Linked DNA regions of Homo sapiens: regions 2, 3 and 4 are each linked to region 1. The links are contacts of gene promoters, found by promoter capture Hi-C in blood cells and fetal thymus (Javierre and others, 2016). All regions are on one chromosome and are shown on one strand. Each heading gives the region's core, a stretch centred on a gene start or on the middle of the fragment in contact. The rest is flanking DNA. Distances are from core to core; before and after follow the strand shown.

Region 1 (5,666 bases), core at 2,257-4,756:
ACTCAAACACTAGATATTTGAAATTGTTGATGCATTTGTATACCATTTTTAAAAAATTCATTTTCTTTTTTTTTTTTTGAGATGGAGTCTTACTCTGTTTCCCAGGCTGGAGTGCAGTGGCGTGATCTCGGCTCACTGTGAACTCCGCCTCCCAGGTTCAAGCGATTCTCCTGCCTCAGCCTCCCAAGTAACTGGGATTATAGGCGTGCACCACCATGCCTGGCTAATTTTATTTATTTATTTAGAGACAGAGTTTCACTCTTGTTGCCCAGGCTGGAATGCAACAGCATAATCTCAGTTCACTGCAACCTCTGCCTCTCAGGTTCAAGTGATTCTCCTGCCTCAGCCTCCTAAGTAGCTAGGATTACAGGCACCCACCACCACACCTGGATAATTTTTGTATTTTTAGTAGAGACAGGGTTTTACCATGTAGGCCAGGCTGGTCTCGAACTTCTGACCTCAGGTGATACGCCTGCCTCAGCCTCCCAAAGTGGTGGGATTACAGGCATGAGCCACCACGCCTGGCCAAAAACTCATTTTCTAATTGTTTAATGCTAGCACATAAAAATTTAATTGATTTTTATAGCTAACTGTACCCAGCAACTTGCTTAAAATCACTTAATACTAAGTGTGTAGATTATTGTAATTTTATGCATAAAATGATAGACTATCATGCTTTCTCTAGATAACAGGTTTATGTATTTCTTTCCAATCCTTATACATTTTTCCTTGCCTTTATGCATTGCTGGAATCTGTAGTACAATACTGAAGTACATCCTATCTTTTGACTTTATAACTATGAGAAAGTATTCTGTTCCAAATTTAAAATATGCACCTAGTAAAACTTTCAAAAATACAGTAAAAACACCAGCCAAAAAAATAACAGCCTTCTAGTTAAATCCAAAGGCCTTTTCTTAAGCCCTTCTCATGATTCTGCATCAGTGGACACTGTTTATTAACCCTTTTTTTTTTTTTAGTTTTTTTGAGACAGTCTCGCTGTCGCCAGGCTGGAGTGCAGTGGCATGATCTTGGCTCACTGCAATCTCCGCCTCCCGGGTTCAAGCGATTCTCCTGCCTCAGCCTTCTGAGTAGCTGGGATTACAGGAGCCTGCCACCATATCCAGCTAATTATTGTATTTTTAGTAGAGACGGGGTTTCACCATGTCGGCCAGGATGGTCTCGATCTCCTGACCTCATGATCCGCCTACCTCGGCCTCCCAAAGTGCCAGGATTACAGGCGTGGGCCACCGCGCCTGGCCTATCAAGCCATTCTAAAGCATTCTTTCCATGTCCAGCTTCTTCTTTTCCTCTTCTAACCCATTACAGTCAGGCATTTCCAAGATTTCGCCTTAGACCTTTTCTCTTTGTATATTAGTCCTTGTTAGCTATTGGGAAACATTTTAAGGTCCATTATTATTCAGAACCAGGCCAGCTTCAGGTGCTTTCCTTTTCTTCAGGAACAAAACAGAAACCTATTATACTTTCCTGTTTAAAAAATGCCATACTCTCCCCTCGCCCAGGTTCTTCTCCTAACTGTGGAATGCAGTCTTCTCTGCGTCTGCCCTTTTGTGCTGTGCTCGAATGGAATCTTCTCACTTTACTGGTTTTACTAATAAACAGAAGTTACAAAGGTCCCTAAATCTTTCCAACGTTTTGGTTCCTGATCTATATGCAGATTCCCTTCTGCAGGAAACTGCATGGAGTGCCACAACATTGGGTGTTAGAAAGCTGGCTGGCTCAGAGGCCTCAGAGTGAGGAGCATTTGACAGGGTCTAGCTTTTGTGTTACAGGACCAAAGAAGCTGAATCATGTTCATTAGAAACTGCTGCATAAAGACCAACATACCAGTGTATTAATTTGTAATGAAAAATAACGACTGTCAAGGAAAATGGCTATTCATTTCATTTGGCCAGGGCATTCTCTCCTTGTAGGAAAACTATACGGGAATTAAAATAATATTCAGAACTGCATTTATTGAGAAAAGGAACAGAATAAAAGGTCCAGTTTTATGATTCAAATATTTAATGGAATCACATTAAGCTTTAATAGAGAGATGAGACTATCTCTACTACTAGAACCAGATAGTTTTGTACACACACAGGAGACTTTTCACTTCAGAAATATTTACTTCCCAGGGTTTTCTTGGCTCAATTCCTGAGTTAGATATATTATTTCTCTCAGTAAGGTTTGCTCTGGCCAGAGACGTTCATTTCTGGTTTGATCCACTCTGGATTGACCCATAATAGAATTATTACAAGACAGTATTTTCAAGTGTTTGGAGAGTATCTGCTGAACCCCAATACCGCTCAGCATACATCTGCATACTAGAGGCTCACAGTTAAATCCTCACTTATTTCTACTTATTCGTCAGTGGGGGGGAAGAAATCAGAAAAAGAGGAAAAGAAAATCATAAACAGCCCCCAATGCCAGGCAGCCTGGCACGCAGCAGATGCCCTCAAATCTGGTGAAGGAATAAACGCAGTTTCCTACTCCTTTCGCCGAATGCAATTCAGAAAAGCATTACAGAGCACAACTCCTTCCAGGCTGGAAACGCTGCCAGAAAGCAGCTCTCGCTTCACCTCTGCCGGGGGACTCCGCCCTCTCCCCCAGCGCTCCAAGCGGAGACCGCAGGTCAGCAAGAACTGAAAACGCGTCTACTGGGCCAGGTCTCATGTTTATCTTATTTCCCCCTCACTCCACAGCACTCACTCCCCAGCTATTAAAACAGAGAAGAAAAAAAAGGAAAGAAAGATGGTAAGAATAAGACAGTAGGGTTAGGATCGGGGAGAGGGGCTTCAGCAAAAAACAGTTGCATCGCTCAGCCCCGGAAACTCATCCCGTCATCCCCAGACTCTCTCTCGGGAACTGGGCCCTACTTCAGAGATCCAGAAACAAAAATTGTAGCGTCGAGATGGTTAGGGCCGAGTCTACTTCTTTCGCCGGTTGGGCCTCAGAGCCCCAAGGCCGCCCTGCTATACTGCGCGACTGCACCGCGGGCCAGAGCGCGCCCCTAGCTCGAGGCTGCCAGCGGACACCGGGAAACTGAGCGGCCTGCGGGTCCAGACATCTGAGGAACGCCGCGCTCAGGCCCGTGCCTGCAGCCCGGTCCGCAGAGGGGGGGGGCCGCTCCCCCCGGTCGCCCAGTCGGGTCGCGCCGGTCCTTTCTCAGGGTGACCGCGTTCCTTCCGCCCAGAGAGGGCAAAGAGTCCCGCTCCCTCGTGTGCATCTCCCGCCCGCGCTCCGGAGCGCCCCCTAGGAAGAAAGCCCGAGCGGCGGCCACGCCTCGGTGGCGATTTTATTAGCGCTTGGTTGGGGTGGCCCGGCTGCCTGCGAGCGGGGTTTCCCCGCCCCTCCCCCCTTCCCCTCCCCCCAGGCGGCCGGAACCTCCCTGCGGAGCGGAGTGATACCGGCGGCGGCGTAGAGCGCGGTGCGGCCGAGGGGCGCCCGGGACTGCGCGGGGCGGGCGGCGGCGGAGGGAGGAGGGGAGAGAGGCGGGGCCGGGGCGGGTTGTTGTGAGGCGACTGCGCTACTGCCGGAGCGGGGCGGTTATGGCGGCTCCATATTAACAGCCTCCTCCTCCTCCGCCGCCGCCGCCGTCTCCTCCTCCTCCTCCTTTCCCTCCCGCCCGCGCTCTAAGCCATCTCCGCCTTCACCCTGACGCCTGCCTCTTCCCCTCACCTTTCCCCCTCCCCTGTTCTACCATGCCCGGCATGATGGAGAAAGGGCCCGAGTTACTGGGGAAGAACCGATCGGCCAACGGCAGCGCCAAGAGCCCGGCAGGCGGCGGCGGCAGCGGCGCCTCGTCCACCAACGGCGGGCTGCACTACTCAGAGCCCGAGAGCGGCTGCAGCAGCGACGACGAGCACGGTGGTAGCCTCGAACTCCTCCCCGCCAGCCCGCCTGCCCCCCTCCCTCTTCCCCTCCCCCAGCCCCCTCCCCTCGCCGCTCTCCCGCCCTCCCTCCCCTCAGAGCCTGGGCGCTGCGGTAGCCTCGAACTCCCGGTGCAGTGCAGCAGCACCCCCGCGACCCCCCGTCCCTCCGCCCTCGACCAATCCTCCGCCTTTGCCCCCCCCCGCTCCCCGCCCCCAATCCGCTGCCATCTCCCGGAGTGCCCCGAGTTGATATCTTCCCATCCACCCGCCGCTTCTTTCCTCCATCTAGCGATTTTTATTTTTTAAGTGTCTCTTCCTTTTTCTTTCTTTTCTTCTTTTTTATTTTTTATATATATTTTTTGGCATTGCTTTGCAGATGTTGGGATGAGAGTCGGAGCCGAATACCAAGCTCGGATCCCTGAATTTGATCCAGGTAGATATATTTGCTTAAGCAAAATCTCATATCCCCTTTCCTGGGCTTGGTTTGGGGTGGACGGGCTAGGAGTCCGGGCATGGGGCCGGGAGGGGATGCGGGGTTGGGCTGGGCAGGCATCCGTGGCGGGGAGGCTGTCAGGCTTGGCCGGGCTGTGACACTGGGCGTGTGGGCAGATGTGTGCACTGCAAGGTTAACATGGTTCCCTTCGGAGGCCACTTGCCCGCTGGGGGCATCGCCTTCCTAGCCCTTGAGCCTGGGGCAGGGTCGGGGTGAGCAGAGGGAGACGGCCCTTGGCGGAGTCCAGGGTCCGAGGCCGCGGGCTGGAGGAGCAGGCGTGCGGACTGTATGGACGAACCGTGCAAATGTCAATTGCCACCTCGCTCGCCCCGGCGCCGAGGGCCGCGCTCTGTCGGGCGGGTGGCAGAGGCCAGGGCGGCTGTCACCGGCCGGGGAAGCCAAGGGCGAGCCCTGCCGACCTGTGCGCAGCCGGGATTGTCTCTTTTCTTTCTTTTTGGCTAGGTGGTGTAGCTTTGGTCGCGGCAGCTCTGCGGAGTGCAGGAGCCGCGGAGAGAAAGGGGTGGGGGAAGGGGGTGGGGAGACGCCAGCGGCAGGCACACCTCGCTCGCCAGCCAGCTCTGGGAAGTTAGACCACAGGACAGTGGCTGCAGCTGCCAAGGAGACATTTTCTCCCCGACCAGCCAGGTTCCAGCGTCCTCTGCCAACCCAGCTTGCGGGCTCCCTGTCTACTTTTCTCCAAACAGGCTCCCCGGCGGTCACGAGATTTCAGCCTGTGCAGGGATTGGGCGAGAGTTCCGCATATGGAGGCGCCCTTGCTGGAGCCTCTCGGAGTGGAGCGCGTTTCCTTCTCCCCACCCTGCCTGAGACCCTTCTCAGTTAAGGCTTTGGACAGACTTTGAAAGGGACCCACCTTTTTTTTTCCTCCTTACAGTTTGTCAATTTTTGCCCAGTGCCCATAATATTGCGTTTGTGTCAGACATTGGATTTCTATGTTAGATATTAAAGAGCTTACTTGTATTTTCTTGGAGAGAAACAATGTTTAATTATTAGGATACAGAGGCGTGTTTTTTTGTTCCTCCTCTCCCCATTAAGACAATGCAAAATGATATTTACCAACCATTTGGATTTCAGATAGCAGCTCTTCCTCCTGTCCCAAGTGAGGAGGATGAAAAGTAATGAGTCGGGACAGTCTCATTTTTAATAGGTGAAAACAGTGATGCAAGAGTGTTCACTAGATTTGGGTTGCCTTCTAAATGACTGGCTGGGAATACATTTTATTCAAAGACTATCAGTGTGTATACTGATGGGCTTCAAATAATTTTAAATGTTTTATGAAACTA
Region 2 (5,666 bases), core at 1,796-4,295, 800 kb before region 1:
CTCCCAAAACATGATATATCTTTTAAAAAATGGGAAAAGAAAGTAGGGTATGGAACTTGTAACCTAGATCTCTAAAACTTGACTGGGCATAATTTTCTAGTGCTTGTTTTATATAGAGATTTCAGATCTCTGGCTCAGATACTAAACAGAATCTTTCAAGGAGAGGCTAGGATTCTCTGTGATTATTATCCCAGAAGGTGTTTAGGACCAGATGAATTTCAGAAGTGCTGTTGTAATTGCTAAAGATCACCATGGGGCATCTTGTTATAGAAAGATATTCTTCTTCATAGACTGCCAATTCCCAGCGATCTAAGGACTGATAAGCTAATTCATTATTCTGATCCTTGGCATTCTCCCCCTTCTCCCTCCCATAATTCGCCTCTCCATTTTTCTATTTTTCATGCTTTCTATGCACAAAGGCTGAGCAAGGAGGTGGGATTGTGCTGAGATAAGCCCATTTTGCTCATTGCCCCCTGCACATGCATTCAATTGGTAGTGAGGAGGAAGTTGAATATTTAGGGTTCAGGTGGGGGCTCTCAGTGCCTCCCCTTTTAGAATATTGCATTCTGGAAAATTAAAAGCATAAATGTAGAATTAACCCTAATGTATTCATCTCCCAGGTTCAACAATTATCAACTCCTGGCCAGTTTTCTTTCATCTGTACTCTCTCCCGTATTGTTTTGAAGCAAATCCCAGATATCTTATTATCTATGAATATTTCGGTAGTATCTCTAAAAGATAAGAACTGTTATATTCTTTTGAACTTCAGAATCTTCTAAGAAAACAGAACATGGCAGAGTGGAGCTATACCCTAACTAGGCAGAGCCTAGGATTAAGAGGAGCAAAGACAGTGACTTGAGGTTTTTCTTTAAAAGAGCTCAGAAAGGTAATATTTCTTCAATTTATTATTGAATGGTGCTTCTCTATGGTAAATCCATGGTAAATCCAGGTATATGAGTTTATGGGAGAAAAGAGAGCTTTAGCAAGGGATTTGAGAGTGAGCGAGGAGATAGAAAAGTGAAAATAATTGAAAGTTGGTTGTTCTTACATGGCAAAGTTTATAATAAAGCTTTGTGGAATGTACATTAGAGTCCTTTTTGAAAGACTTAATTGTTCACTGATTGGAGATTAAAAACCTGTCTAAGTGTAAGTAATCAGAGTTTTTTAGCTCAGTGTTTAAGTACCAACTGTTGTTGAAATAACGCCTGTGCACCTATCTAAATGGTAATGAAATGCCAGCAAAGTTATCCATTTGCTTTTTCTCATTCTACAACATAACAGTGAGAGGAAAGGGATAAGACATTTGACGTCTGATCCTTGTTTTGAAAGCTGGGGAGACAAACATATATCAGTTAGCATAAGATTCCTTTCTTTTTCCCCTCTTTTGAGGCATTAAACATTCTAAGGTTCGTTAAGATACAGTAGAAAAAATTTTTATAAATTTTCTTCTTGGATTAGAATCCTAAGGTTATTTAAAATTAATGCAGTGTAAACCTAAAGCTACTCTGGGATTTACTACTCTGGAACTTGACTGTTCAATTACAGATATTCTATGTAGTGTGAAGATAATTTCATGGTGCATGCTTGCAGAATGGAAGAGATGCCTGCTTGATGTGCTGTTATAAATATATACTGAAATGTAGCAAGTTGCAGCACAGTTATTTAAAATACCCCCTATTCCGTGCCTTCCCTTTCCCCCTTTCTCTCCTTCCCCCATAGTCCCCTCAGAATACCATGATCTTTGTTCATTCTTAACTAACTCATTATTGTGCTGAGGTAACTTGGTGTACGGACAACTTCTTAGATGCAGAAAATACTTGTATGTTTCTTTTAAACCAGGTTGACATATGGAAATCTGAATTTGTTGGATACTTTGAGGGGGGTAATTATTTGCTTTCTAAAGGGATTCTTTACTTTTTTGAAGGATTTGCAATAGAATCCTTTAATTAGTAGTTAATTTCCAATTCAGTCTACACATAGATTTTACAGAGCACTTCTTTTAGGCAAAGTGAGTGATGGACTGTATTAGTTTGTTTTCACACAGCTGATAAAGACATACCCGAAACTGGCAATAAAAAGAGGTTTAATTGGACTTACAGTTTCACATGGCTGGGGAGGCCTCAGAATCACAGAGGGAGGTGAAAGGTACTTCTTACATGGCGGTGACAAGAGAGAAATGAGGAAGAAGCAAAAGCAGAAACCCCTGTTAAACCCATCAGATCTTGTGAGACTTACTATCACGAGAATAGCGTGGGAAAGACTGGCCCCCGTGATTCATTTACCTCCCGCTGGGTTCCTCCTGCAACACATGGGAATTCTGGGAGATATAATTTAAGTTGAGATTTGGGTGGGGACACAGCCAAACCATATCATGGACTCTGCCTGAAAATGTGCTTTTTAGAATTTTCAGACATTTTGCCCTGTGTAAAGCTCCCTTCGGCCGGGCACGGTGACTCACGCCTGTAATCCCAGCACTTCGGGAGGCCGAGGTGGGCAGATCACAAGGTCAGGAGATTGAGACCATCCTGGTGAACATGGTGAAACCCTGTCTCTAATAAAAATACAAAAAAATTAGCCGGGCGTGGTGGCGGGTGCCTGTAGTCCCAGCTACTTGAGAATCTGAGGCAGGAGAATGGCATGAACCTGGGAGGTGGAGCTTGCAGTAAGCCGAGATCGTGCCACTGCACTCCAGTCTGGGTGACAGAATGAGACTTTGTCTCAAAAAAAAGCTCCCTTCTTGTCCCACATTATTTCATTAAGTCTTGCCTGGCTATGTGTGTGGAGTATTACTTTGCTTCTGCTGTGTGGGATCTTCTTCCCTGCATTTCTTGAATCAAGTACAAGATGTCAGCAGGTGATATCCTGAGGAACAAGATGGGCAAATAGGATTTAATATTCTACCTAGGTAAATTGTGTCCTCCAGCAACACATCTTTCCTTTAAAGAGGGACATTTTGGTGGTTTGAGCCCGTTAAGAAGCAATTTTCCAAAACCAAATTTTTCCATGTCTAACATGTTCAAAGAATAGTCACTCTGGGAAGTCAACTCTCTCTTGGGTTTCCAAGTTAATAACCACTCATTGTGACCTTGAAAGGATCAGTTTGGTGTTAAAGAAAAAGAAGAAACAGTTACCTGGGAGAGTGTTAGTTCATGGTTGCCCAGTGTAGAGCCCTTTCTACAGATCACTGGCTCCTCTCATTTAAGGACAAAGCAGGGGAGGCTGATGGGAGGCCAGGAGGCAATTTTCATGCAGCTGTTGAAGCTCTTTCTGGGGCTGACTCTTGACCTTGACCGAGACCACCTCTGGGAGCAGCTGAAAGGCTTCCCGAGATTGATGGTCCTTGGCACACTAAGTGCCTGTCTTCTTGTCCCTGTCTTTCACGTTACCTGCCCTTTATAGCAGAAAAAGGTATCTCTCATTGTGCCTGTGCTTCTTTGACCTGGTATTAGTTAGCTTGAAACAACTCAAAGAGCAAATCTGTTCATCTGGAGTTGCTCACCACAACACACCGCACCCTCATTTGATTTCAAATACCTTTGCATACGTTGTGCTCTTTGAGGCTGGATTTTCTGAGGACCTTTAGAGCTCGTTCCCTTTGTTTTTTTGGTTTGTTTCTTTGTTTCCTGCTTGAAATAACCTCTGTCAGCTCCCTTTAACAACTCCCTGGTCAGCTTCACACAGGCTCTGTTCCACGTCTGGCCTCAGTTTTGTGTGAATCTAGTAAACGTGGTGACTTGGAGACAGCTGACCCGATTCAAGTTCCGACCCTGCCACTTGTTACTGTGTGATCTTAGGCAAATTTTGTAACCTTTCTGTGCCCAGGTTCCTATCTGTAAAATGGGGAGTAATAGTAGTTCTCACCACAGAGAGAATGGAGCAAACACTGGTTTCTCCATCCTTAGTTTAAGAAATAAAATATTACAACATAGTTGAAACCTGATTGGGTTCCCTCCTGATTGTGTTTCCCACCCTGCCCCTAAATGGCAGCCACTATCCTGAATTTGGTATTTTTATTATTCTGTATCTGTTTATGCTTTTACTGTTTGTGTGATTATTGTTTTACATGGATATTGGTAAATAATAAGGCCCATGAGAGACGAGATGGAACTGTCTGAGAAGCCACGCCTGAAGGGTGTGTAGATCCCACTTTAGCAACTGTAGGTAGAGGAGAGTGCAAAGCTCTGCCATAGCTCTCATCAGGAGAGCACCAGGTTTTGGCTTTGTCCCCTTCTGTTTGGCTGCTGTCCCTCCAGGCCTGTTGATGGACCCAAGGAGCACAGCCTGGCCTCTTTGTATTGTTTTGTGCCTTCACGCAGAAAGGAATTATGCAGCCAGAAGTTTATAGCCCCAAATCACTCTCTAATCCACTCAAGTCTGTTCTTGCTTCATTTTACCAACATCTGCTTTGTTCGTTTCTAGTTTTAGGGATGTGATTAATGTTCCTCCAGCTTCTGACTCGTTGCCTTTTTTCCCCTTTCTGTCTCCCCTCTCTCCCTGGTTTGGTCTTACTTACTCTGAATACTCAGTCTTTGCATTTCCTGGAAGCAGCCCTAAAGCCTCTTCTGTGAACTGCTCACCAGCCAGATGCAGCGGGTTCCTGGGACCACCCCCTTTTTGAGCACCAGAGGGTCAACTACCGGATGTGCATGGCCTTGCCATCAACATGCACAACCAATTGTTTAGAGCATATTATTGCTGTACTATGAGTAGGGGATTTTGTGATATAGACCGTGCACAGGCAGGTAGATTACATGTGTCTGTCCCTCTTGGTCAGAGATTCAGCTTAGGATCTCCTAGTGGATGAGTCTGAGCTACTGGTTTCTGACCATTTGTCCTTCAGCAGGCCAATGACACTGTTGAGCTCAGAAGTGGGGACACTAGCTTCTCCCTGGTGGGGCTGCTTCTAGCTCTAGAGGTTTAGGTTGAATTGAAATGACACCAGTTGCTGTAGTCATTCATTTCCAGAATTCAATGCTAGAGATGACTGAATTCCTTTTGCTTCTTTAGCCCCTCTGGCCGGTCAAGCTTCACGTGAGGTGTCCCTGGTACCTCTCCCCCACACGCTGCTCTTCCTTCTGGGCTGTAGCACTTGCTGCTCTGGAGTATGTGGCAGCTGTTCCTCAGTTCTGCCCATGACCTCACTCCCTTCCCCTACCAGTCACATTTACTGACTTTGGTTTTCTGGGTGCTGATCCATCTCCTCCTGACCAAGCACGTTACAGAACTCCTGTGGGGCAATAGCTACCTTTTGTTCAGTGTGTCTGCAGAGCCATCATGATGACTCTGAGCACTGGTGGGTTGACCACCTCAGGACATTAGTTTCTCTTCCTCCTTCACCCCCGGCGGGGAGAGAAAATCTCCAAGTCTCTGTTGTAGCACTTCCACCTTATGTTGAGGTTCCTGGTCTGTATTATTCTTGATTCGTCTTTATATTTCCAGTACTTACCCCACATCTTATATATGAGAGGTTCTTATAAATAACCTCATATGAGAAAAAACTTATTAAAAAAAAGTCTAAGCTTCTTGAAGCTACAAAGCTTTAATCACAAAAAAAAGTTAAGCAAAATCTAGAGTAGGTTTGATGTGGACAAAGTAAAAGTTATTAGAGGGACTTGGAACAGAAAATGTCCAGACGAGAGGTCAGGCCACGGACTGACACAGGGGCA
Region 3 (5,666 bases), core at 2,192-4,691, 780 kb after region 1:
TCTTGACCACTTACTCTTATATCCTCATCTAATCCATTAGCAAATCTTCTTGGCTCTACTTTGAAAGTATATCCAGAATCTCAGCACTTCACACATTTTCAGTGTCACCATCTCGGTCTAAGCCACTATTTTCTTTTCCCTGGATTGTTATAGTTGCCTTCTCATTGGTCTCCCTACTTGGGTCCCTGACCCTCCCCACTTCAGTCTATTCTCAGCACAGTAGCCAGACTGATACTTTTCAAAGGAAAGTCAGATCATGTCACACACCTGCTGAAAATCCTCCATGGTTTCCTTTCTCACTCAGAATGAAAGCCAGTCCTTTTGATGGCTTGCACGGCCCTACCTGAACGGGACTCTGGTTATCTTTCTTTTTTTTTTTTCGAGACAGTCTTGCTCTGTTGCCCAGACTGGAGTGCAGTGGTGTGATCTCGGCTCACTGGAAGCCCCGCCTCCCAGGTTCACGCCATTCTCCTGCCTCAGCCTCCCAAGTAGCTGGAACTACAGGTGCCCACCACCACGCCTGGCTAATTTTTTGTATTTTGTTTAGTAGAGACAGGGTTTCACCATGTTAGCCAGGATGGTCTCGATCTCCTGACTTCGTGATCCGCCCGCCTCAGCTTCCCAAAGTGCGGGGATTACAGGCGTGAACCACCACGCCCGACTGACTCTGGTTATCTTTCTATACTCATTGCCTATTACTTTGCTCCAGATAACTGCATGCAAAGGAGGCTTCTACCTCAGGGCCTTTGTACTTGCTGTTCTTCCACTTGATTGAGGAGGTCTTTCTTGCCTATACTTCATAAAATAAGAAATCAACTCCAGCCCCAGATCAGTTTTCTCCAGTCCCTTTCATTGCTTCATTTTCCTTTATAATATGTATCACTAACTGTCACGTTTGCTATATTTGCGGAGTGTCTGCATCTGCTGTCTAGAATGTAAGCTCTATAGGGGCAGGAGTTTTGTCTCATTAACTGCCATGTTCCTAGTACAAAGCCCGATCAAATAAGTCATGTGTCTGAGTGTGTATGCTGAGGTGGGGGAGATATTTCAGAAACAGTATTCCTTGGAGTTTGGGAACGAAAAAAAGAGTTGGAACTTGTAGCCTTCTGACCTTTAGCTCACAAAACAGAAATACTTTAACAGGTACAAGATGAAATGACTCAATATTTAAAATACTCAACTATATTCTACACGAAACTGGCTATTTCTATAACTTAATTTCCTAACAGCTTTAAAAGTTACTACAGATGAGATGAAAAAGAACAAGTCATCTTTCTGAGCCTGAGATTCACCTGTAAAACACTCACGCCAGGCATTGCTGGGAGGAGTGCAAATGATCACTTACTCTGTGTCTAAGATTGACACCTGATTTCTTTCCTATAGATATAAAATATTTTCATTTCAACTCTTCTTTAAAAAGGAAAAATTGTGGTTTTTTTCTTACAACTGCAAAATTTGAGGAATTAAACCATTCTAGACTCCTCTTCAGTGCCCCATCTTTATCCCTGTTCCACAACCACTATCCTATTGTCAGCATGAGACAAGCTCAGCTGCACCAGAATGGTAGAAAATGTCCTTAGAACTCGTAGGGATATTAGATATTATCCTGACCTGTAACTTTCACTGAGGAATAAGAAAGAAATGTATCAGAATGAGGAGGAAAGTGTTTGAAAAACACATTTAAGGCCGGGCGCGGTGGCTCATGCCTGTAAATCCCAGCACTTTGGAAGGCCGAGGCGGACGGATCACCTGAGGTCAGGAGTTGGAGACCAGCCTGGCCAACATGGTGAAACCCCGTCTATACTAAAAATACAAAAATTAGCCGGGCGTGGTGGCGGGCGCCTGTAATTCCAGCTACTCGGGAGGCTGAGGCAGGAGAACCGTTTGAACTCGGGAGGCGGAGGTTGCAGTGAGCCGAGATGGCGCCACTGCACTCTAGCCTGGGCAACAGAGCAACACTCTGTCTCCAAAAAAAAAGAGAAAAACACATTTAGTATTATACTTTTTTTTTTCAGAGGAGAAAACCCCTAAAGATTTGGTAAGAGAAGGAAAAGTTCAACATAATTTTCTTGGTTGATGGGGGTGCACTAAAGATACTGAGACTCAACCAAAGGAATATCCCATTAGGGGGCTGTGAAATTTTTGTGTTTATCAAAATAAGGTAAAAGCTTTTTTAAGAGCCTGAGAAACTCTTATTTAGACTAACCCACTAAAAATATTCACAGTTTAAAAAATAAACAGAAAAAGAGTCCCAAAAAAGTTAATAGACATGTCCAACTCAGAAAACTGGGAAGTGGCTCAAACCCTTCTGAGTTCTAGTCCAGTTCTCCAACATTATATATTGGCTACGATTAATCAAGATTTAATTGTATACCAGCTGCCGAAATGTTTCCCGTACAATAAAAATCCTCAATATGAAATAAAGGTTTCATATTACTAGTCGAGTTCTTTACTAACAAATTTCCGACCTTGCCTCCCATATCCACATCTAAGAAGGGAGGTATATCTCTTCAGCATTTACTAAATGCTTCTTTTGCATACCATTAAGTCACTTAATACAATTCTGCCGGCTCAATGGTACTGTACCCACTTTGCAGACGACAAGCCGAGGCTAGATGAAGTTAATCATAAAATCAGCGGCATTGAAACTTAACTCAGTGTAACCCCAAAGCTCCCTCTACACCAAGCTGCTCCCTGTACGGCAACAGAACTCCTGGAACTTGTCCGCAGAGAATGAGCAGGGCCCTTGCTTTTTTATGGTCTTGGCCAGGTTTAGCCTGCCTTGTAACCCGCAGGTAACAGAGCTATGGAAATCAAATGAATCGCTGTCAAGTCGGTGCAAGATTACTATTCAGCACATTTCATGAAGACCTGGTCTCAACTGAACAGACTGAAAACCAATTTCACAATTTCTTTGCAGTGTCTCTTAGAAACTAGCCACTGTCACTGCTTAGAAAATCGGGGGACTGCTCCCTCAAGTGGTCAAAACGGGCCTCTCACTAGAGCTCGCTACTTGTTTAGCCGGTATAAGGCCAGTCACACAATCCTGCAAATTTCCCGCAACCTCCCGAAGGGGTCAAAGCCCACGCCCCAGCAAAAGCACAGGCGCTCCCCGCCCAGCGAAGACATGCGCATGCGCCTATCCGTCTTCTCCCAAAGCAACCACCACCTGGTGGCGCCACTTCCCCCCACGCCTGTTTCACCCATTCAGCCCTCTCTTTCGAATACCTTTGTCCAATTCCATAAGGGCAGAGTTGGCATCCAGTTCCTGTTCGCCATAGCCGGCATCTGCCAGGAAAGACTTAGTTGAGTTTGACGCCATGACCCGAATAGTTACTCGACTAGCCTAGTCAGAAAGCTTGCAAACTCTACCCCAGGACCGCCATCTTCCCCCGCCGCCTTCTTGCTGGTTTTTCTTCCGCGCGCTGTCAAGCCCTGTTACGCATGCGCCCTGGTCACCCCGCGGTTTGTCCGCGCCTCTGCTACCCCCTGCGCAGGCGCTCAAGGAGCTCTTGGACTCCAGGTTCCCGCGGCTGGGAGAAAAGGAGGCGGGGATCCGAAGGGGGAAATGACTCTGAGGCGCCCGGACGTCGCTCGGAAGCCAATCAGAGAGCGTGACGTCAGTTTGGCGCGGAGTTTGGCGGCCGGGGCTTACAGTGGCGGGAGTTGGAGGCGATAACGATTTGTGTTGTGAGAGGCGCAAGCTGCGATTTCTGCTGAACTTGGAGGCATTTCTACGACTTTTCTCTCAGCTGAGGCTTTTCCTCCGACCCTGATGCTCTTCAATTCGGTGCTCCGCCAGCCCCAGCTTGGCGTCCTGAGAAATGGTGAGTAACGGTCCCAACCGCTGCTCGGAGCTGGCGGAATTCATTTCCCCCGAAACACACGCCACCTCCGACCAGGGCCGACTCCAATTCTGAACTCAGCTTCTGAGTTCTCCCATGGCAAGGGTAAATTAGTGTTAGCAGGGACTACTAAAGAAAGCTGTACTTTCATCCCCTCGGGACACTTGTAATCGTAATCGGGCTTTTAAAATCGTAACGTAGGCAGGGACGTCGAAATAACTGCCTTCCAAGGCCCCTTACAGCTTACATCTCCATTGCGCGTTAACGGGAAAATGCATGCATTTGTGTGTATATGTTTCCTTCAACGGTTATTTGAGATGCTCAAAACTCCTAATCATTGATTAATTCATTCGTTTGTTGTAGAATCTTAGTGAGCCCAGCTATGTGCTATAGGTATATACCAGTGAATATGACCCGCTGTTAAGGAACTCAGTCAAGCAGAGAAGACAGGATATCTGCTTCTAACAGGAACAAAATCTTATTTTCCCCGTTTACTACACGGTCATAAAAATTTAAATTATAGAGTGAAAGATGCCTGTAACCACATCCGCCAGAGATGACCCCTGTTAATAGATTGAAGTATATTATTCCAGATGTTTTCGACGCTAGAGGTAATACCTATTATTTTCAGAAATCGGATCAAAACGTCCAGTTTTTTCACTTTAATGGTATAAGTTGAACGTATTCCCATGTTAATACGTAGAAATCTAACTTATTTTCTTACGCTAAAACATTGGCAATAAGAGATTTGAGGTTAGATTTGGATGTCATCAACTTAAACTTTTTGGTAAGTTTCAGATAAGGGAGCTAACTACCCAGATTAACCTTGGACAGAAATAAAATCTCACTCATGTGAAGGTCGACTATAGCCAGAGGTTCTTTTTCCCCTTGAAACTATGTGGAAAACGAACCTGAGAAGGGAATTTTTATATTCAGCGATGAGTCTAGGAAAATAATATTGAGAAAGAGACTGAGAAGTAGTCCCTCAACTTCCTGCTAGCAGTCTGAAACTTTATACCATCCTTATTTATTTCCCTCTTAGATAATCTTTGTAATTATACTTAAATGCTCCTCTTTCTGTCTCTCCTGGGACCTTGTTTGAGTAACTTCTTTGTCCTCTGTTTAAGAGTGACAGTACGCACAGTGGCTAAGAACTCTGTCTTTGAAGTTAAACTGCCTGGGTTTTATTATACTTCCACACCTTACTATATGTGTGTTCTGGGGGAGCTGTTCAGCCTCTATTTTGTGACAGATTTTCTCCTAATTCTCCATGTGTTTACCTTTCCCTTCCCTCTTTCCTATTCTCAAGTACTCATTCGTTGTTACATAATAGTCACTGAAATTCATTCGTTATTATATGAAATCTATAGAATCATCTCCTTTCCTCTTCAGTGTTGGTGTTCCATCCTTGACCCCTTTTCTTCTTCTACCTACTCCTTTGGATGATCACAGCCACAACCAGGGCTTCTTCCACTTCTACATACATACAACCTTCTGTTACTTATATAGTAAGTCCTCACTTAATGTCTAGATAGGCTCTTGGAAACTGTGACTTTAGGGAAAACAGTGTATAACTAAACTAACTCTACCATAGGCTACTTGATATAAATAAGAATTGTTTCAGTGGCATATTTTGGTCACACAAACACCACCGAACTTCTAAAGAAAGACTCAAAGTACTTTTAATATTAAATGTTGAAATAATTGTGTGCTATACATATATTTGAGAAAGATTAATAAAAACAGGTGAGATAATTATCCAAGTTTTGGTGTATCAGCGAGTGACCTCGGTCATAGTGGTGGTGGGCTAAATCAAGGAAT
Region 4 (5,666 bases), core at 1,463-3,962, 670 kb before region 1:
CTGTGTACCTTGGGCAAATTAATTTCTCAACCTCAGTTTCCTCACCCATAAAATGGGATTATCTAAGGTGATCAAATAATTTATTATCTAAACTGGAAACTGGAACACATTTGAGAGTGGAGGATGTTAAAGAAAAACCAGAGATAGGTAGTAGTTGAAGCAGTAAAAAAAAAATTATTTGGGAACTGTTGTAATAGGGGAAAAGAGACCTCAGTATGGAACTGGACTCTTTTTTTTGAGACGGAGTCTTGCTCTGTCACCCAGGCTGGAGTGCAGTGGCATGTTTTCAGCTCACTGCAACCTCCACCTCCTCCTCCCGGGTTCAAATGATTCTTCTGCCTCAGCCTTCCAAGTAGCTGGGACTACAGGCCCACACCACCATGACTGGCTGATTTTTGTATTTTTGGTCGAGACAGGGTTTTGCCATGTTAGCCAGGCTGGTCTCGAACTCCTGACCTCAGGTGATCCACCCGCCTCAGCCTCTCAAAGTGCTGGGATTACAGGCAAGAGCCACTGCACCCAGCCAGAACTAGGCTTAATTCTGAATACAGCTTGGATAAGGGGGATATAGCCAAGGAGCAAGGTGGGGGTCATTGAGTGGAATATTAAGAGGAAACATTGGGAAATAGGAGGATTCTGGCTAAACAGACCTAACAGGATTCCTCCTGAAGGCAGCCAGGGTGATCAGACACCAAGAGTAGGTGATGAAGAATTTGGCCAGATGATGGAGCATGATCAGATATTGCAGGTGGGGGGTTCGTTCTAAACTGACTTAGCAGGATTCTTGCTACAATAAAGATGGACACCAAGGTTGAGGCCTAGAGAGCTTAGAGGAGCTTGACTAAAGTTTAGTCAAGGAGAGAGTCTTTGTCCAGTGGCACAGTTTTATCATAGAGTCTTTTAAAAGATTTATTGCCTGATAAGTTGTTTTTATTTTTAGCCTGCCTACCTATACAGTTGTTCTATTAAGCCAGGTATAGTGACTCATACCTGTAATCCTTGCACTTGGGAGGCTGAGACAGGAGGTTCACTTGAGGCTAGGAGTTCAAGACCAGCCTAGGCAACTTTTATATCATCTCTACAAAAAAAGTTTTAAATTAGCTGGGTGTGGTGGTGCATGCCTGTAGTCCCAGTTACTTGGGGGGCTAAAGTGGGAGGATTATCTGAGTTCAGGAGTTTGAGGTTGTGGTAAGCTGTGACTGCACCACTCTACTCCTGCCTGGGTAACATCTAGAGATGCTATCTCTAAAAATAAAATAGTCCTGTTGAAAACATTTTGAATAGAACAATTTCCTCTCTAAAAACAATTTTATTTCCTCTTCAAAAACAAGTTTGATCTCCTCCCCTAAATTAATATATAAACAGGACAAATGCTAAATTGTTTAAAATGCTGGGGCAGTAGGTATAAACTATACATATGGTGCTTTAAAGAATCAAAGTGGTACATGTAAGTGTCTAGTACTTGGAACATACTGTGTATTCAGAAAAGGATTTTTTCATTTTCCTTCCTGGAGGAAGGTTGGACAAAGAAGCACTGATCAGCAATAAAGGCCTATGGGCTTTTTAAAAAGGCTATTGCAAGAAGGGTATGCTCCTAGCTTTCCAGGTCCTAACAGCTCAAGGTGTGAGTTTTGTCCAACTCAAGCAGGAAATTACTGATTGAAGAACATAGTACTGTCTCTACGTACTCAGGCAGCTGTCTCAGCAATGGAGAACATACCCAGGGGACAGCTATGCATTTTGTCTGGTACTTTGGCTGCCCTGTGAGCACAGAGCTCTTTTCTTTATTGTGAATTCACGACTGCTTCTGGGCAACCTGCCTAGAAAGCTGGGGAACCGTCTCTGGCACCCATCTGCTGCACCCAGCTCCTGCCTGTTTAGGAACGTGATCTTACCAATTGCATTTAAATAATGGGTTTACCATAAACTTAATAGTTTGAGCTGTAAAATCCACACTTGCTGTATTAGTCCATTTTCATACTGCTATGAAGAAATACCCAAGATTGGGTAATTTATAAAGAAAAAACACTTTAATGGATTCACATTTCCACATGGCTGGGGAGGCCTCACAATCATGGCAGAAGGTGAAGGAGAAGCAAAGGCACATCTTACATGGCGCCAGGCCGGAGAGCATGTGCAGGGGAACTGCCCTTTATACAACCATCAGATCTCGTGTGAGACTTATTCGCTATCATGAGAACAGCATAGGAAAAACCCACCCCCATGATTCAATTACCTCGCGCTGGGTCCCTCCCATGACACGTGGGGATTATGGGAGCTACAATTCAAGATGAGATTTGGGTGGGGTCACAGCCAAACCATATCACCTGCCTTGAAGGTTGCTGGCCTCATGTAGCCAGAAGCTTAACTGCCATTCTGTGATTGGATTTCCAGGGTTGGGCCCATCCCTTTCAGAAACTCTAAATTCATGACTTCTTGCCCTGCCTCTTGTAAGTGCTATTTTGCTCTAGTAATGAGAGCTCTTGAGCCTGTGTGTTCATTTAACCTAACACCCTGCAGAGCTAAGGCTTGGGTTTTCGCCAACTCCTTGTGGGATGGAGAATCCAAGGAATCTGGCCTCTTGGAAGTGAGGAAGGATCTGCATATGTGAACAGCAGTATGTGACAGGATAGTCAAGCTGGGGAGCAGATAGAGTTGCAGGGCAGCCCTCTGTATGTCTCCTAACAGCCTCTTCTTTCTCTAGGTATGTGTACATTCCAGTGGGCGGGTCCCAGCATGGCCTGCTGGGGACACTGTTTTCCACGGCGATGACATTTGCATTTGTGAGCTACTGGCATGGCGGCTACGACTACCTCTGGTGCTGGGCAGCGCTCAACTGGCTGGGAGTCACTGTGGAGAATGGAGTCCGGAGGCTGGTGGAGACTCCCTGCATCCAGGACAGTCTGGTGAGCAGGATCCTTGCTGCTGTGTTAGGGGACAGTGGAACTAGGCAGATCAGGTTTATTAGGGATGGGGCCATCAGATTCCCTGCCCCCACTATGGGCCCTTTCTACTAGGTTGGTTCAAAGTCCATATGCCTAGAGGCAAGACAGCTGGAAAAGAAGCTTCTGTAGTGCATATATGTGTGTTTGTGCATGGGTGTGTGTGTGTATATATAACTATAAAAAATGTATTATGTAAAAATTAGAACATTTAAACAAGAAAATAACCTCTCAACAGAAACCATGTTAAGATCCATTCTTCTAAATTTTTTCCATGTGTATATACAAACAGACATATGTATATAACATTAAAACAAATGCTATTACAGAGAGATGATTGTATCGGGACCACCTTTTTAAGTCACTGAGTCCATACCTAACCACCCTTTTTAATGGCTACATAGAATTCCCTTACGTGGATATGCCATAATTTATTTTAGTCTCCTATTATTAGTAATCATATTATTCTAAAGATTTTTTGCAACTATCAACTGTATTAAGATGAATATCATAACCAGGATGAATTCTCGTAAGTGAAATTTCCAGGTTCAAGGTTTTTCTCATCTTTAATGTTCATTATGTATATTGCTTATTAACTCTTAACTGCCCTGTAGACAAAAGTACACTAATTTGTATTTCTACCAATGGTGCATAAGAATGACCTTGCTAATACTGAGTATAACTGGAATTTTAAATCCTTGATAGGTATTGTATATAGTAGTATAAAAAACAGCTAAGGTTTTTAAGAAGCAGTTCAACTTTACAGGAAAATGATTTGGAAAATCAATTAAGCATTTCTCTTTACACATATATTTTAAGTGATTTTAAACTATGGGCATAGCTTTTATCTTGCGAATGTGATATATGATATATTACAATCTTGTAGGAAATCATCAGTTCTGAAGATGTAGCAATATTCCTCTAACCCCGAAAAAAGTAGCTAAAAAGAAATGTGCTGGCATCAGTGTTCATGGCAGGCAATCACACACAGAAAATTTGAAAAATGATTAATGTGGCTACATTCCACCCAGTGTGAATAACTAAAGCAAATGCACTTTAAAAAGCCCTGTCAAAACAGAATACATTTACATATGTTTTTATAAAGATAGCCATAGTACAAGTGGACAGTTATTTCAATAAAAACTGAAATAAACCGAGTAGTCAAACAACACATTGGAGGGGATTTAAATATGCTCATGTATGTATAAAGATAAATATTTTTCCAGCCATCAGCAGGAAAGAAATGCCAGTGGATTCTAACAGAAAATGTTATTTCAGTGAAAGCCATGGCTATGTAACACACAGGAAAACCAAAAAGGATGGTATCATAAAGATTTTAATCTTCATCCTCAAATCTGAGCATTCTGCTCCAAAGCCTGAAAACACAGTTACCACCTTTGAAAGTCAGAAGGTTCTTTTCAGCCCAGTCTGTAGCCCTGCAACACATTTCTGTGCTCTTTCATGAAGCAAGTAACATTAACCTTGAACTTAATGTTAAGCAGTGCTCTGTGGCCTTTGAGCCATAGCTTATGCTAGTAATAATTTTAGAAATCTAAAACATTCGAGTAACCCAACTGTGCCATGTAGCCTGTGACCTGTTCATTTTGGTTCAAAATAAATCAAGGCATCAAGCACACTTACTCACAGGATGAAGCTCTTGCTTGTCTACCTTGCTCCATCACACCTTGCTCCAGGACTCACTCATTCACCTCACTTGACCTTCCATCTACAATTCAGGTACCTTGGTACATAGTAATTTTTGATATGCATTTTTTTGGCAAAATATTTGTCTTATATGTTGCAAGTATGATGTTTGGCTTGCATATTTATTGAGCAAGAATATATGAAACTTATTTTTATCACCTACAAGCCTGGTAGGCAGTTACAGCTATTTAGACGATGGACTCCTTGAGTACATGGCCAGGTTCCCATTACTCTGTTTATCCCCATTGTCTGAGTGAGCCTCAGTGTTAAATCAGTGCACAATTAGTGCTTTCATATCAGGTTGATTATTTAGTTCTTCCTCCACTTGCCCAGACATAGAATCTTCCTCCAGTACCCTGTTTCTTATGTAGTTCCACACAACATCCAAATGCACACAATTTTTTGAGTAAACTATTTCCCCACTTAGGTTACCCTTCTTCCCTCTCTTTTCATGAATCAATTTCCTGTTCTTCTGTCAAAATCCAAATGAAGACTTACTGGCTTTGTGAGTTAATTATGCATGCCCCTCACATCCTCAGTAGTATTCAGAGTTCTCCAGAGAAACAGATCAATAGGATGTGTGTGTATTTTGGTAGGGGGATAGGGATGACGGTAAAGAAATTTAGTATACAGAATTAGACCATGTGATTTTGTAGGCTGAGAAATTCAGACCCAGGAGAGCTGATGGTGTAAGTTCCAGTCCAAAAAAAAAAAAAAAAAAAAAAGGCAACAGAAGACCAGTGTCCTAGCTCAAAGACAGTCAGGCTTGAAGACAGAAAAAAATATTGTGTTAGCTTTCTATTCTATTCAGAACTTCAACAGATTGGATGAGGCCCGCTCACATTAGGGAGGGAAATCTGCTTTATTCAGTCTACTGATTCAAATGTTAATCTCATCCAGAAACGCCTTCACCAGAACACCCATGAATAATACTTAAGTGAATATTTGGGCCCAGTCAGGTTTACAAATAAAATTAACCATCACACCCTTTCTTCATGGTGTATATCCTTCATCTGTTTT

What was found. Contacts are between HindIII fragments. The CHiCAGO score rates a contact against its expected background, and 5 or more counts as called.
Region 2: a fragment that was not itself captured here is called in contact with the fragment with the promoter of RCOR3 in region 1 in 2 of 17 cell types (M2 macrophages and M0 macrophages); the score reaches 17.3 in M2 macrophages.
Region 3: a contact is called between the fragment with the promoter of INTS7 here and the fragment with the promoter of RCOR3 in region 1, in 2 of 17 cell types (fetal thymus and activated CD4 T cells). The highest score is 5.2, in fetal thymus.
Region 4: a contact is called between a fragment that was not itself captured here and the fragment with the promoter of RCOR3 in region 1, in 3 of 17 cell types (megakaryocytes, fetal thymus and M1 macrophages). The highest score is 7.9, in megakaryocytes.

The regions. Positions count from the first base shown.
Region 1 is chr1:211,255,860-211,261,525 of GRCh38, forward strand. It overlaps RCOR3 (REST corepressor 3), which reads left to right and starts at 3,507. Exons shown (of 12, transcript NM_001136223.3): 1 at 3,507-3,867; 2 at 4,249-4,305. The coding sequence starts at 3,702. LOC105372902 (a long non-coding RNA gene) reads right to left here and starts at 3,333. Exons shown (of 2, transcript XR_922552.3): 1 at 2,877-3,333; 2 at 1,954-2,716. RefSeq lists enhancers at 2,326-2,445, 2,720-3,221, 3,724-4,223 and silencers at 2,926-3,715, 3,786-4,085. The HindIII fragment of the contact is 7,419 bases long and covers 2,039-5,666 here.
Region 2 is chr1:210,451,834-210,457,499 of GRCh38, forward strand. All of the region lies in intron 7 of HHAT (hedgehog acyltransferase), which reads left to right. Among named protein-coding and RNA genes, the nearest start is that of HHAT, 130 kb to the left of the region's middle. The HindIII fragment of the contact is 3,956 bases long and covers 1,068-5,023 here.
Region 3 is chr1:212,032,116-212,037,781 of GRCh38, forward strand. It overlaps INTS7 (integrator complex subunit 7), which reads right to left and starts at 3,442. Exons shown (of 20, transcript NM_015434.4): 1 at 3,229-3,442. The coding sequence starts at 3,322. It overlaps DTL (denticleless E3 ubiquitin protein ligase adapter), which reads left to right and starts at 3,633. Exons shown (of 15, transcript NM_016448.4): 1 at 3,633-3,827. The coding sequence starts at 3,776. RefSeq lists enhancers at 3,293-3,502, 3,381-3,917, 3,663-3,902, 3,918-4,452. The HindIII fragment of the contact is 8,834 bases long and covers 3,357-5,666 here.
Region 4 is chr1:210,585,194-210,590,859 of GRCh38, forward strand. HHAT (hedgehog acyltransferase) reads left to right here. Exons shown (of 12, transcript NM_018194.6): 10 at 2,705-2,906. Among named protein-coding and RNA genes, the nearest start is that of HHAT, 260 kb to the left of the region's middle. The HindIII fragment of the contact is 702 bases long and covers 2,362-3,063 here.